Linked DNA regions of Homo sapiens: region 2 is linked to region 1. Evidence: promoter capture Hi-C in 16 types of primary human blood cells and fetal thymus (Javierre and others, 2016). All regions are on one chromosome and are shown on one strand. Each heading gives the region's core, a stretch centred on a gene start or on the middle of the fragment in contact. The rest is flanking DNA. Distances are from core to core; before and after follow the strand shown.

Region 1 (7,550 bases), core at 3,477-5,976:
CCCTGTGCACTTCTTCATCTGTGTTCTTTCTGATATCCTTTGTATTAAACTGGTATATGTAAGCGTTTCCCTGAGTTCTGTGAGCCTGTCCAGCAAATTAATCAAACCCAAAGAGGGGTTGTGGGAATCCCAAATTGAAGCTAGTTGGTCAGATGTTCTGGAGGCCCAGACTTGACTCTGGGTCTAGGGGAGAGAGGAGGCAGTTTTGTGGGACTGAGCCCTCAACCTCTGGGATGTGATGCTATCTTGAGGTAGATAGTGTCAGAACGGAGTTGAATTGGAGGATGCCCAGCTGGTGTCTTCTGCAGAACTGATTGCTTGTTGGTGTAGACTGCCCACCAACATCTGGTCACAGAAGTCTTTTGTGTTGATTGTTGCGGTATGAGAGCAGAGGACAATGCAGTTTGAGTTTCTCTGCATTCAGAAGTGGTTAGGGCTTTGCATTCTAGGTGCACCCAAGAGAAACATGTAGAGATGCTCACAGCCCATGGAGGACTGCCTCTTCTAACCTGCTTCCTTCCCCTTCCCATCCGACCACTTTCTTTTCCAGGCCAAGGTGGCAGTGGTGGTAATTATGAAACATCTTTCAAGGGAACATGATTTTTTTTTTAAGACAACTGTCTCCTCTTCACAGGGAAGTTTCCCTCCATTACTAGCCTTGGAGTATCTGGCTTTATTATTATTATTATTATTGTTGAGATGGAGTTTCACTCTTGTTACCCAGGCTGGAGTGCAATGGTGCGATCTCGGCTCACTGCAACCTCCGCCTCCCCAGTTCAAGTGATTCTCTTGCCTCAGCCTCCCAAGTAGCTGGGGTTACAGGCATGTGCCACCACACCCAGCTAATTTTGTATTTTTAGTAGAGATGGGGTTTTTCCATGTTGGTCAGGCTGGCCTTGAACTCCCGACCGCAGGTGATCCACCCACCTCGGCCTCCCAAAGTGTTGGGATTACAGGCATGAGCCACTGCACCTGGCCTGGCTTAATTATTTTTTGTTGTTGTTGGTTTTTGTTTGTTTGTTTATTTTTTGAGACAGGGTCTTGCTCTGTTGCCCAGGCTGGAGTGCAGTCGCGCAATCACAGCCTACTGCAGCCTCTACCTCCTGGGCTTAAGTGATCCTTTTGCCTCAGCCTCCTGAGTTGCTGAGACCACAGGCATATGCCACCATGCCTGGCTATTTAAAAAAAATTTTTTTTTAGTGGAAATGTGTTCTCAAGGGATCCTCCCATCTCAGCCTCTTAAAGTGCTGGGGTTACAGGTGTGAGCCACAGTACCCAGCTAATCTGGCTTAATTATATTAAGGGAGGTGGCAGTTTCTTTATAGGGAGCCAAGCCTCCAGGTGTTCATGGAACTGTGGTTTCTTGGGGGTGTGGGACTTGCAGTGCTAAGTCTCTTTGGACACAGTTGGTCACTATACTCCTTTAGCACTTGCAGGGCCCTCAAGCCACCAGGGCTGGAGTGATTGCCTGCATTCATTGTACCCCAGGGCCAGATCTGTTCCTTCTCAGGTTTTACCCAACCTGAAATTCACTTCTAAGGAAGGATATACATGCCAAGTTCTATTAAGGGGCTACCTTAAAGATACAATGTGTCTCCTCTTAAACAACCAACACCTAATTCAATTATGTTACTGGCAACTATGTATTATGTTTTGCACCCACAAAATATTCTGAACCAAAAACTCAGTTCTTGTTGTATCTGGGAGACCTCTGAAGTGAACCTTCTTTAAGAAGGAAGGGAAGGGCTGTGGGAAAAGGCTCCCTTCAGCTTTCTTCTGCCCATTCTCCAGGACGGCCAGATTTTAAACCTGTAGACTGCCCTGGAAATTGCAAAGGCTACATACTTGTTATATGAAGATCAGGAAAGAAATCATTTATTTATTTATTTATTTATTTATTTTTAAAAAGAAGTCATTTATGTATAAAGTCGATGGACTTAGAAGAAGCAAACGTAAGTCTGAAAGTTTGAAGAGGGTTTACAGTCATATGCTTCCTCTCCCAAAATGCCAAACAAGGCAGGCATTCTGGTTAAAGTAACTGTAATTATTGAGTGAAATAAGGATAGTAAACACTACCATAGGGGTAGTAGAACCCCGTGATATGAGTCCATTTCTTTGTATTAATCAGACAATTACGGCTAATGAGGTGTGCTCTTCTTTTTCAAAGTCATATTTAACTGGGAAAGATAAAGCAAAAGAAATGCTTCTTGCTGAATGTTTTCTTCTTGTTTCCTATGTGAGTAAAATTGGACCTTTTAAAATTTTGTCTTTTTTAAAGTCATATTTAACTGGGAAAGATAAAGCAAAAGAAATGCTTCTTGCTGAATGTTTTCTTCTTCTTTTGTGAGTAAAATTGGACCTTTTAAAATTTTGTCTTTTTTAAAGTCATATTTAACTGGGAAAGATAAAGCAAAAGAAATGCTTCTTGCTGAATGTTTTCTTCTTCTTATGTGAGTAAAATTGGACCTTTTAAAATTTTGCTGTAAATCATGATCTATTAGTGGCAATAAAAAAATCCATAGGTTCTTAGAGTTGCATCTACTTTACGGTAACTGAGCATGAATAAAGACAGAGTGTTTCAGGGACACGATTGCTTGATTTTCAAGTAGGGAAGTCCTGTGATGTCCCCTGATGTATCACATTGAATTCACTGATGTCTGGAGCTGAGACTGAAATGAGAGAATGGGACACAGAGCTTGGAAGGAGGTAATAGGAGGTAGGTTGATTCTGTGTGGATTTAGAATCAGCTCAGAAGAGTATTTGGGTTCAGGAAGTGCCACGTATCTTTGCTCACTTTATCAGCAGTAGAGGACTAAAATCTGGGCAGGGTGGCAGCGGGAGTCCTATTGCCTGTTTGTAGAAAAGTGACTGTGCCTGATGGCGATCTCAAGAGGAGGAGACAATGGCAGGGAATGAAGAAATGCCTCGGTTGATAGGTCAGTCTTGCAGCTGCCAGAAGATTGATGCTCTCTCAGCATGGACTTCAAATACACACTGATTGTTCTTTACTGTCAACTGGCCTTAATTGTTCTCTAAGGATCGCTGTAGATACGACGGTTGTTGGACTAAAGGGAGATAATCAAAAGAATCAAGGTGCATTGACGAGTCAGGATGTTATTCAATGGCAGGAGAGAGGGTAGAGAGTCAGGGTTAAGAGGTTAAGTAAGAACATAGTCTTTTGGAGCACATTGGTTCATATTGTCTACAGAGCAGCTGTGTGCCTATATAAAGTTACTTAACCTCTCTACACTTATCACATCTGTAAAATGGAGACAATGCTTTCATTGGGCAAGGCCAAGGGCCAGTGGAGGGGCTTCGACCTGGCAGCAATGGCCAGCATGGTCACTGGTACTTGTGAGCAACCTCCTTTCCTCCATTAGAGCACTATCCTGCTCTGTCAATGGTCACAAGTGCCCTCAGATACTCTTTTTTTTTTTTTTTTTCAGTTATCATCCTGTTTGTCTTCCCTGCAGCCTGTACACATCTGACCCTTCCCTTCTTACAGTCGTCTGCTCTTTTGGCTTTTCTGATGCGTCCCACACCTCTCTGACCCTTGCTTCCAGTCTCCTTCCTTTGGCTGTACGCTGTCCTCCTAGATTCTTCACAATTTGGATGATCTTCCCTATTCATTCCATCCTTTCTCATGCCACCTTTGGGCTGATGACTACTGATCAATATTCCTAGTCCAAACCTCCTGTGTGTCCAGTGGCTTATGGGACACGTACACTGGGATGTCCCCCAAACATTTCAAACTCAACACATGTAGATGAGAACAATCTTTCTCCTAAAGCATGTTTCTCCACCTGTGCTTTTATTGGCTGTCAGGCACGTAGTCACCCAACTTGGTGCTAGAAACTTGGGAGTCATCCTACCTCGGCTGGTTTTCTTCTCTTGCAGATTGCATCAGCTGCCCAGTTCCCTCCTCTCCATGCCCCCTGCCAATGCCTCATCACATTTTGCTTTCAGACTGCCTCCCAACTCACTTCTGTGCCCGCAGTGTGGCCTCACATCTGTCTACCTGTCACTGCCAGAGCCAGCTCTCTGGTGAGGAAGTCAGAACGTCATTGCCCCCACATTATTGACAGTACACAACTTAGGAAACCCGTAGTGCCCCTTTCTACTCAGCCACTCTTGCAGTCTGGTCCTCTGCCCCATCCCTGCAATCTTCTAGGAAGCTTATCTACCTATTGACTGGCAGCACCATGCCCCCGTGCCTCTGTTCTTCCTGCTGCGTGGAAATGAAGGCTAATGGATATTGGCTACTCCAGTAGCAGGCTGCATAGATGTACCACGTTGTTTTAAGCCATTTACATGAGTATTTCCCCCACAAGCCAGAGGTTTCCTCCGACCAAGTATCTTGTCTTGTTTATCTTTGGTCCCAGAATCTACTATGGTGAATGAGACATGGTGTGTGCCCAAGGCACGGAATAAACGATCAGAAATGATTTATTTATTCAGAGTGGGCTGTCAGCTTCAGCCGCTGACTTTTCTAGAGACCGGCTCCCTCGGGGCTTCAGCGCTCTTGGGCCCCCGCAGCCACGCAGGTGAAGGGCAGCGGGGTGGCTGGCTGTGGGAGGGCTGGGCTGGGTGGCTGCCCTCGCGCCTGCGCCCTCGGCTGCTCCTCTCCGGGCGCGTCTCTGTGCGCGTGTGTCTGTTTGGAGCGGAGGAGAGGCTTGGGTGACAGGCGAGGGGTGGGGGGAAGAGTTCAGCCTGAGTCACAGTCTCATTCACTGATTTCTCTTCGGCTGGACGGAGGCTGCCTCCTCACGCGGCTCCCAACTATTCCCGTAGCTCAGTGCCCCCCTCCCGCCGCTCTACTCAGCCAGGCAGACAGACTGACAGACTCGCTAGTGAGTAGCGGCGGCTTGAGCGCCCGGGCAGCGCGGCGGGCTGTCGCCGGCGGTCTTGTCTTCCCACGGGCTCTGTGTGTGTGTGTGTGTGTGTGTGTGTGTGTGTGTGTGTGTGTGTAGGATGTGCGTGTATGTGATGTGCGCGCAGGGGGTGTCCCTGGGATTCCACGCCTGCTCCAAGAGCTCCCTGCCGGGATCCGCGTGTCCATCCGAGTCTGCGATGCTGTGAGGGCGCTCGCCTAAGCAGGGGGTTCGGACGCCCCCCGCGAGCGGCGAGAGTTTGCTGGGATTCCCCGGCTCCTCACGCAGCGGCTGGTGGGGTTCCCCGGGAAGGCGCCTGGGTAAGGCAGCGGCGGGGAAGCCCGGGATTGTGAGTGGCTGGCAGGCCGGGAATCTGGGAGCGGGTTTGGCCCAGCACAGCCGAGGGAGATGCCGGAGCGGCCACCCTTGGCCGCCCAGCCTCTCTGCCTTTCTCCCTTGCCCTTCCTCCTTTCTTTTCTCAGCAGCATCACAAAGGCGCGCTGCAAAATGAAACCCAGTGTAGTGAAGCTCGGCTGTCTCCCACCTGGTGCATATTCCGCCCCCCGTCCTTGCCCCAGGCTGGAGGAGTGGAGTGGGGGTCCCCAAGATTAGGGGCGGGGTCTTACCACGGGGGCACACCTGTTTTCGATTCTTGCTGAATTCAAGCTGGGTGCGGGATCGCGAGAGAGGTTCCAGTACGCCGGTGTGTGTGTGTGTGTGTGTGTGTGTGTGTGTGTGTGTGTGTGGCCGCGCACGCGCACACGCTCCCCAGGCCCACGCTAGCGGGGTGCGCTCAGTCAATAGCACACCTCCCCGCCGGCCCGCGTGCGCCCAGCCGGCTCCGTGGGCTCCTCGCGCGCTCTCTGACAGCGTGCCGGGATCTCTTTGTTTGGTTGTGGCTTCCCTAGCTCTCGGCAAAGCAGACGGATTTTCGGTTTCGTTTGATACCGCGCTCTGGGACTTAGTGCGGGCCACAGCCTCGAATGCCCCTGGTATTTGTAATTGAAGAGTTCTTTCGGTCAGGGGGTTATTTTTGGTGTTGGGAATAAAGAGGCAAGCATGTTGACCTTTTTGCTGCTGCCTTCGGCTTTGAATGTGTGTCTCTGGTGGAGCAGACAGATTCAAATCTAGTCGCGCACACGTGCCAACGCACACCAGTGTGCACACACATTTCTACACACGTAGTTTACCCCCACCTTCTTTTTTCCTTTTAGAAAAATTGGGACAGGGAATACATTGTGTGTCTGTGAAAAAGTTTCCTTTGTTCTTTTGGGCATTTTCTATTTTGAGTAATGGAGTAGGAGTACGGAAAGGCTGCAGTTAGTTCACTCGATTAAAAGACACTGCCTCTGAGTCAGAGCTGCCAGGTTGATAATTATTAACATATAAAAGCAAACGCAATGTTTAAGGCAGAAGGGGCGGGACGGGGGCAGGTCCGCGGCAGACAATGAGGGAGAGTCTCCGCCGACCGCCTGCTGCTTATTGTTCCGGGACTGGAGACTGCAGCCGGCTGCTGCCTAGTCCTCCGGGGCTCCGCTCCTGACTAGCTCCTCCGTCCCTCTAGGGACGGTTCGGGGTCACCTAACCCTGGTCCCCGGGGCGCTGGGACGCTAGCCCCAAGCCGCAGCCGCTCTTCGCTGACCGCCCTCTTTCTGCTTTGCAGGTCGGCAGCTTCACTCCCGAGGGTGCCGCGAGCCCAGGCGGCGAACACCCGGTACCCCTGGCGCAGCGAGGTGGGATGCTGTACGGACAGCAGCGCTAAGTGCCCCCCCACCCCCGGCGCAGGGTGCACTCGCTCCTGGCCGCGGGCCCAGCGGCGGCGGCGGCGGCGGCGGCGGAGGGGATGAGCCCGGGACGCGCGAGGCGCCTGCCTCAAGCTACCGCCCGGAGAGGGACGCCGAGTAGGGCTCATCGCAGTACCGCGCGGACCCCTGCCCCCTGTGGCACGCGGCTGCGGAGCCTTGAAGCCGTGTCTGTGATCAGGATGCACTGGGCGCCTCGCAGCTGGTGAGGATGCCCTGCTGCGCGGCCCTGCGCCCCCAGCCCCAGTCCCAGGTGGGCAAGACTGACTGGGCCCGGCTTCGGCCCCTCGTGCCGGTGGATGAAACGTGCCGGAGTGCTTGGGTGCCATCAGCTATCAAATCTGAATTCTAAGCGCCATGGACGAAGGCACTGGACTGCAGCCCGGGGCGGGAGAGCAGCTGGAGGCGCCGGCCACTGCAGAAGCTGTCCAAGAGAGGTGCGAGCCGGAGACCCTCAGGTCTAAGAGTTTACCGGTCCTCAGCAGCGCCTCCTGCCGGCCAAGCCTCAGTCCCACTAGTGGAGACGCCAACCCGGCCTTTGGCTGTGTGGATTCTTCGGGCCACCAGGAGTTGAAGCAAGGCCCGAACCCGTTGGCCCCCAGTCCCTCTGCCCCGTCCACTTCGGCGGGGCTCGGGGACTGTAACCACAGGGTGGACCTCAGCAAAACCTTCTCGGTGTCCTCCGCCTTGGCCATGCTCCAGGAGAGAAGGTGCCTCTACGTGGTCCTCACGGATTCCCGTTGCTTCCTGGTGTGCATGTGCTTTCTGACCTTCATCCAGGCGTTAATGGTCTCTGGGTACCTGAGCAGCGTAATTACCACCATTGAAAGGCGCTACAGTCTGAAGAGTTCCGAGTCGGGGCTGCTGGTCAGCTGCT
Region 2 (7,550 bases), core at 1,469-3,968, 2.0 Mb before region 1:
AAGGTATTGATTTGCATGAGAAGCAACACTTCTGGCTCATGCTGGGGGTGAGGGAATAGAGAGTAAAGTACATTTGCATGGTCAGGAGAGCTGGATAGAAAAGTGTGTAGATTGATGGTATGGCCACTATAACATATCAGGGTTAAAGCAACACCAACAATAGGCACTGACTCAGATGGACTCTCAGGATGCTCCTCTGCTTTTCAGGTCTCCTGGGGTGGATCCCAGAAGCTCTGCTCAGTCACTTCAGGGAATTATCCCCTGGTTGCTAGACTAACAACAGCCTGTGACAAAGGGAGGGAAATTTAAGACCCTATGACCAGAACTGTTTACTAGCAGGTCCAGGATTAGAATTCACAGACTCTGAGTTTCCCCTTGGCATCCAGCCCACCCAATCTGAAGGACACCAGCAGATAAGAATTTGGCACCATGACAGCTATTTCTCTGCAGCTGTTTTCCATGCACACTGGCCAAGTGCCCCGGAGCCCGCGTGGGGTTGCAAGTGGGGCGTTCTCAGAGCCTGACTTGTTGGGTGGCCTTGGGCAGTCTCTCCCTCTTCCAACTATGATTTCTCACCTAAAATGAGGGGTCTGGGCTGGATGGGGCCTTAACTGCACCATAGTTTTAAATGAATGCCCTGCTTACTGTGGGTCTTCAGAATAGCACTGATTATGTCTCCCTTTATTGCTAGTACATCACAATACGGGGAGGCTGAAAGCTTGAGAAAATGAACAAAGTCAACCTACACTTAAATGTTTTATGAGTTTGGTGCAAAAGTTACTGAGGTTTTTGCCATTACTTTCAATGGCAAAAACCTCAATTACTTTTGCACCAACCTAACAGATGAAACTCAAGCCATTCAGGTGTCTTTTGACTTGTTCTGCAGAAGATCTGTAATATCTCTACGTGATTTCACTGTTGATGATAAACTTTGCCACAGACTCTTCATTTCTGTGATAAGTATTTAATCTTACAAAGGTAGAAAACAACTTCTCCACATTATATGGAAACCAAATAAGCACAGAAATGATGGTACTTAAAACTGTTCTAGTCTCAAAACAAACTTTCATTAGTGTTTAAAAACCTGGCCAGGCACGGTGGCTCAAGCCTGTAATCCCAGCACTTTGGGAGGCCGAGGTGGGTGGATCATGAGGTCAGGAGATCGAAACCATCCTGGCTAACACGGTGAAACTCCGTCTCTACTAAAAATACACAAAAATTAGCCAGGCATGGTGGCGGGCACCTGTAGTCCCAGCTACTCGGGAGACTGAGGCAGGAGAACGGCGTGAACCCAGGAGGCGGAGCTTGCAGTGAGACGAGATCGTGCCACTGCACTCCAGCCTGGGCGACAGAAAGAGACTGTCTGAAAAAAAAACCCAAACACAAGATCTGTTCAGACCTTTTAAAAAGATTCTATGATTGAGTTTGGTTTGCTCCAGAGTAAAAATTATAGTGGAAAAACATCAGATCCAAATAAAAGAATCTTCAGGAAAAAGTATAATATATAAACAACTACTGGTTTTCTTCAAACTCCTGACAACCTAGGAGATGCTGAAATTTGACCTATCGTTTCAAGAATCTAGTGAGTTTTCCCTTTTTAGGTTAGGACATCTCCCTGTGACAATTTTCACCTTTCTCCAAGACTTCTCAAAATATACTGTTGTTGTTTCTATACTCGGACCTTTAAACCTGTCCCATATCCCGATATGTGATTCACCTGAGCACAGACTCATAGAAAGCTACTTTGTCTGGCAATGTGCAGAATAGATTGAACAGAGCACAAGTTGGACAGTCCAGGCAAAAGAAACTGAGGCCTAGGCTGAGACGATGGTGGTGGGAATACCAGGGATAGAGCCAAGAGACTTTTGACTGCTAGAATCAAATTAACTGGGTTATAGACTGGATGTGTGTGATGAAAGCCAGGGTAAAAGCCACAATGACTACAAGGTTTCTAATTCGGGCCAGACAGTGAATAGCAAAGTCATCATGAGTCATGATTTATCACTAAAATTTAAAAGGGCAAGTTTGAAACAGTACAGAATTGAGAAACTTTGCCATTCATTTGGGAACTCTACCATCCATTGGCCCATACAGATTCTTATCAAATTTGGTCTTACTCTGGGGACTTAGATTCTTTCAGAGGGGGTAAAATCATAACTGAAAGCTTAAAGAGAGAAGGGGTTTGTGCAGCTCAGAGACACAAAGCTTGGAAACAGGGCCCTTGCCTTGATCGCATGTGAGCATGCCTTTTTTCTTTCATTGGATTCTAAATATCTTCAGAGCAGGAATCATCATTTTTCATTTTGTGTCTTATGAAATTACAACCTCCATCTGTCTGGTACAAAGCAGATGATCAATAAATATTTAATAAATTTCTCTTGATAGAAAATAGTTATTGCTACTCTTTAGTTTAAATTCCTTCTCACTTGTAAAACGAGGGTGATTTGATTTGGGAAAGTCCATACCCTGGAACCACCCGAGATATGTAGTCATCACAGACAACTAAGAAAGTATGTCTAATTAGTCACTACCATTTGACACTACTATTTCTGCTGTACATAATCTGATGGTGCTAGGGAGCCCTCAGACAGAAAAAGAAGAGTATTGACTGAGTTCAGTAAAGTACTTTAAAATGTAAAGCTTTAAAATTGGAAGAGGCAAATTCATACTGTAAACACGCTAAGCACCATGCTATACGCTTTACAGATATCAGCCCTTTAATGCCTCTGATCAGGCCCATGAATAGGCCTGTGATAGTCTTGATTTATGGGTGGGAAAACAGGCTCTCAAAGCTTCAATAACCTTCCAAGGGCCACACAGGGAATAACTGGTGGAATCAGAGTTTAAATCTATTTCTCTCTAGCTAAGAATCTGAACCCAAAACCATTCCCTGAGCCTCCCCAAAAGTTGTCTGCTGGGGTGAAAGGAAGCTGGTGGGAAGATGGTGCCCACCGATGAGACTAACTGAACTTTAGGAGTTAACTCGGAACAACGGATGAGCCATAGAGCTATACCTCCTTCCGAGGGCTTGACACGGGACGAAAGCGCAGAAAGGAGTCAAGGCTGTCTGCTTCCTTGGCGGTGCCCACCAATGCAACCCAGGGAGTGGCACTTGTCTATAAACATATTTGTTTCTTTTTGGGTTTGCTTTCCTCTTTATTTTATAATGAAGATGATTTGAAAAACACCCAATTTATATGTGCTGAACTAAAAAGAAAATAGATCTATTCTCACTTAGGATTTTTAGCTCACAAAATTACATACTCCTGGAGAGCCCAGCAGTGGAGGCAGGGAGTGGCCAATCTGAAGATGAACAAAGAACTGCTCCTGGGAGAAACTGAGGTAGGGGAGCCAAGAAATGCCATGACCGAGGAGAAGCCCCAGTCTGCCTAGAAGAGCTGATCATTTTTGTTTGACCTTAATAGATACTTGCTTAAGTGAGTTATAGGAACAAACAATTTCCCACCAACAACAAGTGATCCACTTTTTTCCATCTTCACCAAAGACAGAAAAAGAGAAAACATGTGTGAATTGAAACATATAAGAAGTACAGTAGATTTAATGAAATTGCCAGAGAGAGGTTTTCTAACCGTCTAGGATTTGTGATGTAGAATTTGCGCAGTTAGGGAAGAATCTGTGGTACAGATTTCGTAGAATCATAAAGCCACAAAACTTTAGAGCTAGAAGGTATCTCATAAGTAATCTACTTTGGTTTATCATGGCATTCTAAAGATAATAAAAAACAAAGACTATATGGTTACTGTAATTACCTAACCGGGACTGTTGTGCAACAATGTAAAATTATGGCCCCAAATTATGCAATACCTAGGAAAATTTTATGAAATAAACAGGATAAGAAACTATAATTATAGCAATGACAATAAAAATCAAAATAATCTAATCATTTTAAAGATAAGGAAAATGAAACTGGATTTTTGGAAACTGGCTTCTCATCTGTCTTGGATTAGAGAAAGATGCTGCTTGAAAGTTTGGCTTTTTAAAAAAAAATCCCCTTGTCATTTAAGGTCATTTCTGGTCTGTCTTTTACTGGCTGACTTCTCTTTGTCTTCCTCCCCTAAACCCTTCCCACTCCCTCTGCCTTAACCTGCAGAATTAATTCTACCTCATCTATATTTGTGCAATACTTTACACACATCTTCATTTTTAAAGAAAAGTTATTAAAAGTACTATATGCCCCAAAATGCAAGAATGGTGTGGCATAAGAAAATCAGTCAATGTAATACACATTATAGAATGAAGGGGAAAACTCACACAATCATCTTCATCGACATAGAAAAGCATTTAACAAAATCCCACACTCTTTCACGATAAAAAACAAAACAAAACAAAACAGAAAACCAGGAGAAGGCAACTTCCCCAGCACCATAAGACGCCTTTATGCTAACATCAAACCCAATATGAAAGACTGAAAGCTTTCCCCCATAAGGTCAGGAACAAGACAAGGATGCCTGTTTTCACCATGACTATTCAACACTGCACTGGAAGTTCTCACCATAAAAAGGAAGGAAACACTGACACGTGCTACAACATGGATGAACCTTGAAAATATTATGCTAAGTGAAAGCAGGTAGACACACAAGGTCACACATTGTATGATTCCATTTATATAAAATATTCAGAATAGATCAATCCTTTGGGACAAAAACAGATTAGTTGTTGCCAGTTCAAGGAGGGAACATAGAAACTGTTTAATAGCTAAGGGGTTTTAGTTTGGAATGGTGACAATATTTTGAAACTTATAGAAATGGTGATTTCGTGACATTGGGAATATGCTAAATGCCAGTAAATTGTCTACTTTAAAATGGCAATTTTTTTTTAGCATTCCACAGTGTGATCCTTTACTACAGCAAGGTGGCTGATTATCAAAAACTGAGAAAAGCAAGAGTGAATACGTTAAAAAGGTTTGTTGCAGATACAAGAAGGTAAGCGGAGGCAAAGATAACTCAGTGCTAGAGGTCTGGATGTGGCTCCTCAAGGAGCTCCCTGCAGCCCGGCTCCTCCAGGATGGCGCTCTGCACACAACCCGGGCAGCATCTGCTTCCCCGGGAAAAGTTACCCATTGACATCAGCTGTGTTTAAGAGCTAATTTTTATGTTAGGTGAATTTCATGATGTAACCAAGTTCAAAAAAATGAGTCCTTTGAAACCCAAATTCAAGGGCGGTAAATATATGTCAATGGGTATTTCCCCACTATATTAAGTACTTACACGCTCATTGTTTCTGCTGTTTGGGGACCTCTCTGCAGCTCCAGCACTTTCCACAGGATTCAATAGGAAAAATAATTGAGCGCCACGCAGCCGGTCCCAGTAATAAAAAGACGTCATTAGCGCGCCATCTCGTGGTAAATATATAAGTTGCAGCAAACCCTCAGGCTGCAGATTTTTTTTTTTTTTTTTTTTTTTTTTTTTTTTTTTTTTTTGTTAAGACAGGGTTAAGCCTATGTTGCCCAGGCTGGAGTACAGTGGCACTATTATGGCTCACTGCATCCTTGACTTCCTGGGCTCCAGCGATCCTCCCACCTCAGCCTCCTGAGTAGCTGGGACAACAGGCATGAGCCACCACGCTAGTTGTTTATTTTTATTTTTTGTAGAGACAAGCTTCTCACTATATTGCTCAGGCTGGTCTCAAACTCCTGGACTCAAGTGATTTGCCTTCCTCGGCCTCCCAAAGTGCTGGGATTGCAGGCGTGAGGCACGGCACCCGACTAGGGAGCAGAGATGAACCCTGAGGTTACTTTCTGTCCTTTCCTCAAGCCAGAGTGGTTTAGGTCACTGGTCATGAATACAAGGATCGGGGTTGTACGCCTTCTCAAAGACCTCATGTTCCTTAACATCAAAATGCTCTGACTTATTCCAGATTCCTTAGGAAACAGCCTGAAGGAAAGCCATGAGTGCAGACTCCCTATGGAACCTGGTCACAGCTTCAGGACATCCTTGGGGAGGTGTCAGCAATCCCCCTGTACCAATGGTGATGGTGTGTAGGGGGGGTCCAGGGAACCTTTTCCCCTACAACCTTCAAGAAAGCAGCTGGTGGCAGGAGTCTTTCTAGAGCAAATACTGTGCAAGAGGGAATCCAAGAGGGCCGATAAGCTGGATTTCTGCACATGTGTCACTGTGTCAGGGGCATCCCCTGCACGGCCACCACTTCTGCCTGTGGGCCATCTGTGGCTTCTCAGGTCCCTTGTAGTAACTGCAACAGCGCTACTGTCATCACAGCTCTTCCAGAAGACAGCTCTGGGTGGTTCCCCACTACTGTATTTGTGAGATCCAAAGGTGTAGCTCTCTGTTGCCTTGTGGATCCGTTATATTTGCAGGCAGTGTTATAGTTCTGAGGGGATTTTGGAAGTGGTGGTTACTTCAACGAAGAGCTTGAGATGAGCATCTCATCTGAGCTTCACAAGTCCTCTGCGAGATAAATAAGGAAGATTATTATAATTCTCTCCATTTCATGCAAGTGTTAAACCCAGGCCTTGTCTTTGTTTAAGGATAGATATAGGCCAGGCACAGTGGCTCACGCTTGTAATCCCAGCACTTTGGGAGGCCGAGGCAGGTGGATCACGAGGTCAGGAGTTCGAGGCCAGCCTGGCCAATATGGTGAAACCACATTTCTACTAAAAATACAAAAATGAGTGGAGCCTGGTGGTGGGTGCCTGAATCCCAGCCACTCGAGAGGCTGAGGCAGGAGAATCGTTTGAACCTGGGTGGAGGGGCTTGCAGTGAGCCAAGATCGCCCCATTGTTCTCCAGCCTGGACGATAGGGTGAGACTCGGTCTCAAAAAAAAAAAAAAAAAAAAAAGCTATAAAGTAGCAGATTCACTTGCTGTGTCTTTCCAGAAATACAAGAACCATTCTACTTCTTCCCATGGAAAGCCTGCATTTCACACGTGTAATGATTCAAATCTGTGTTTTAAGATGAGAATAGGCAAAACAGTATCGTGCTCTGCTCACCTTCTCCACCTTCACTCTTCACTCAAGCCAAATTATGCTATTATTGATGGAAACACAAACAAAGACAATATATTTTTTAAATTATACTTTAAGTTTTAGGGTACATGTGCACAACGTGCAGGTTTGTTACATATGTATACATGTGCCATGTTGGTGTGCTGCACCCATTAACTCGTCATTTAACATTAGGTATATCTCCTAATGCTATCCCTCCCCCCTCCTCCCACCCCACAACAGGCCTCAGTGTGTGACGCTCCCCTACCTGTGTCCATGTGTTCTCATTGTTCAGTTCCCATCTATGAGTGAGAACATGTGGTGTTTGGTTTTTTCTCCTTGAGACAGTTTGCTGAGAATGATGGTTTGCAGCTTCATCCATGTCCCTACAAAGGACATGAACTCATCCTTTTTTATGGCTGCATAGTATTCCATGGTGTATATGTGCCACATTTTCTTAATCCAGTATAACATTGTTGGACATTGGGTTGGTTCCAAGTCTTTGCTATTGTGAATAGTGCCACAATAAACATACGTGTGCATGTGTCTTTATAGCAGCATGATTTATAATCCTTTGGGTATACGCCC

Evidence for each region. The method cuts DNA at HindIII sites, captures the fragments that hold promoters and counts their contacts. A CHiCAGO score of 5 or more calls a contact.
Region 2: a fragment that was not itself captured here is called in contact with the fragment with the promoter of SLCO5A1 in region 1 in 1 of 17 cell types (activated CD4 T cells); the score reaches 8.8 in activated CD4 T cells.

The regions. Positions count from the first base shown.
Region 1 is chr8:69,832,154-69,839,703 of GRCh38, reverse strand. SLCO5A1 (solute carrier organic anion transporter family member 5A1) reads left to right here and starts at 4,726. Exons shown (of 10, transcript NM_030958.3): 1 at 4,726-4,850; 2 at 6,535-7,550. The coding sequence starts at 7,031. It overlaps SLCO5A1-AS1 (SLCO5A1 antisense RNA 1), which reads right to left and starts at 5,592. Exons shown (of 4, transcript NR_186568.1): 1 at 5,511-5,592. RefSeq lists silencers at 4,461-4,570, 6,661-6,750 and enhancers at 4,891-4,970, 6,401-6,470. The HindIII fragment of the contact is 8,160 bases long and covers 4,178-7,550 here.
Region 2 is chr8:71,825,894-71,833,443 of GRCh38, reverse strand. No RefSeq gene overlaps it. Among named protein-coding and RNA genes, the nearest start is that of MSC-AS1, 13 kb to the left of the region's middle. RefSeq lists enhancers at 223-272, 1,948-2,127, 1,704-2,903, 6,078-6,137. The HindIII fragment of the contact is 152 bases long and covers 2,643-2,794 here.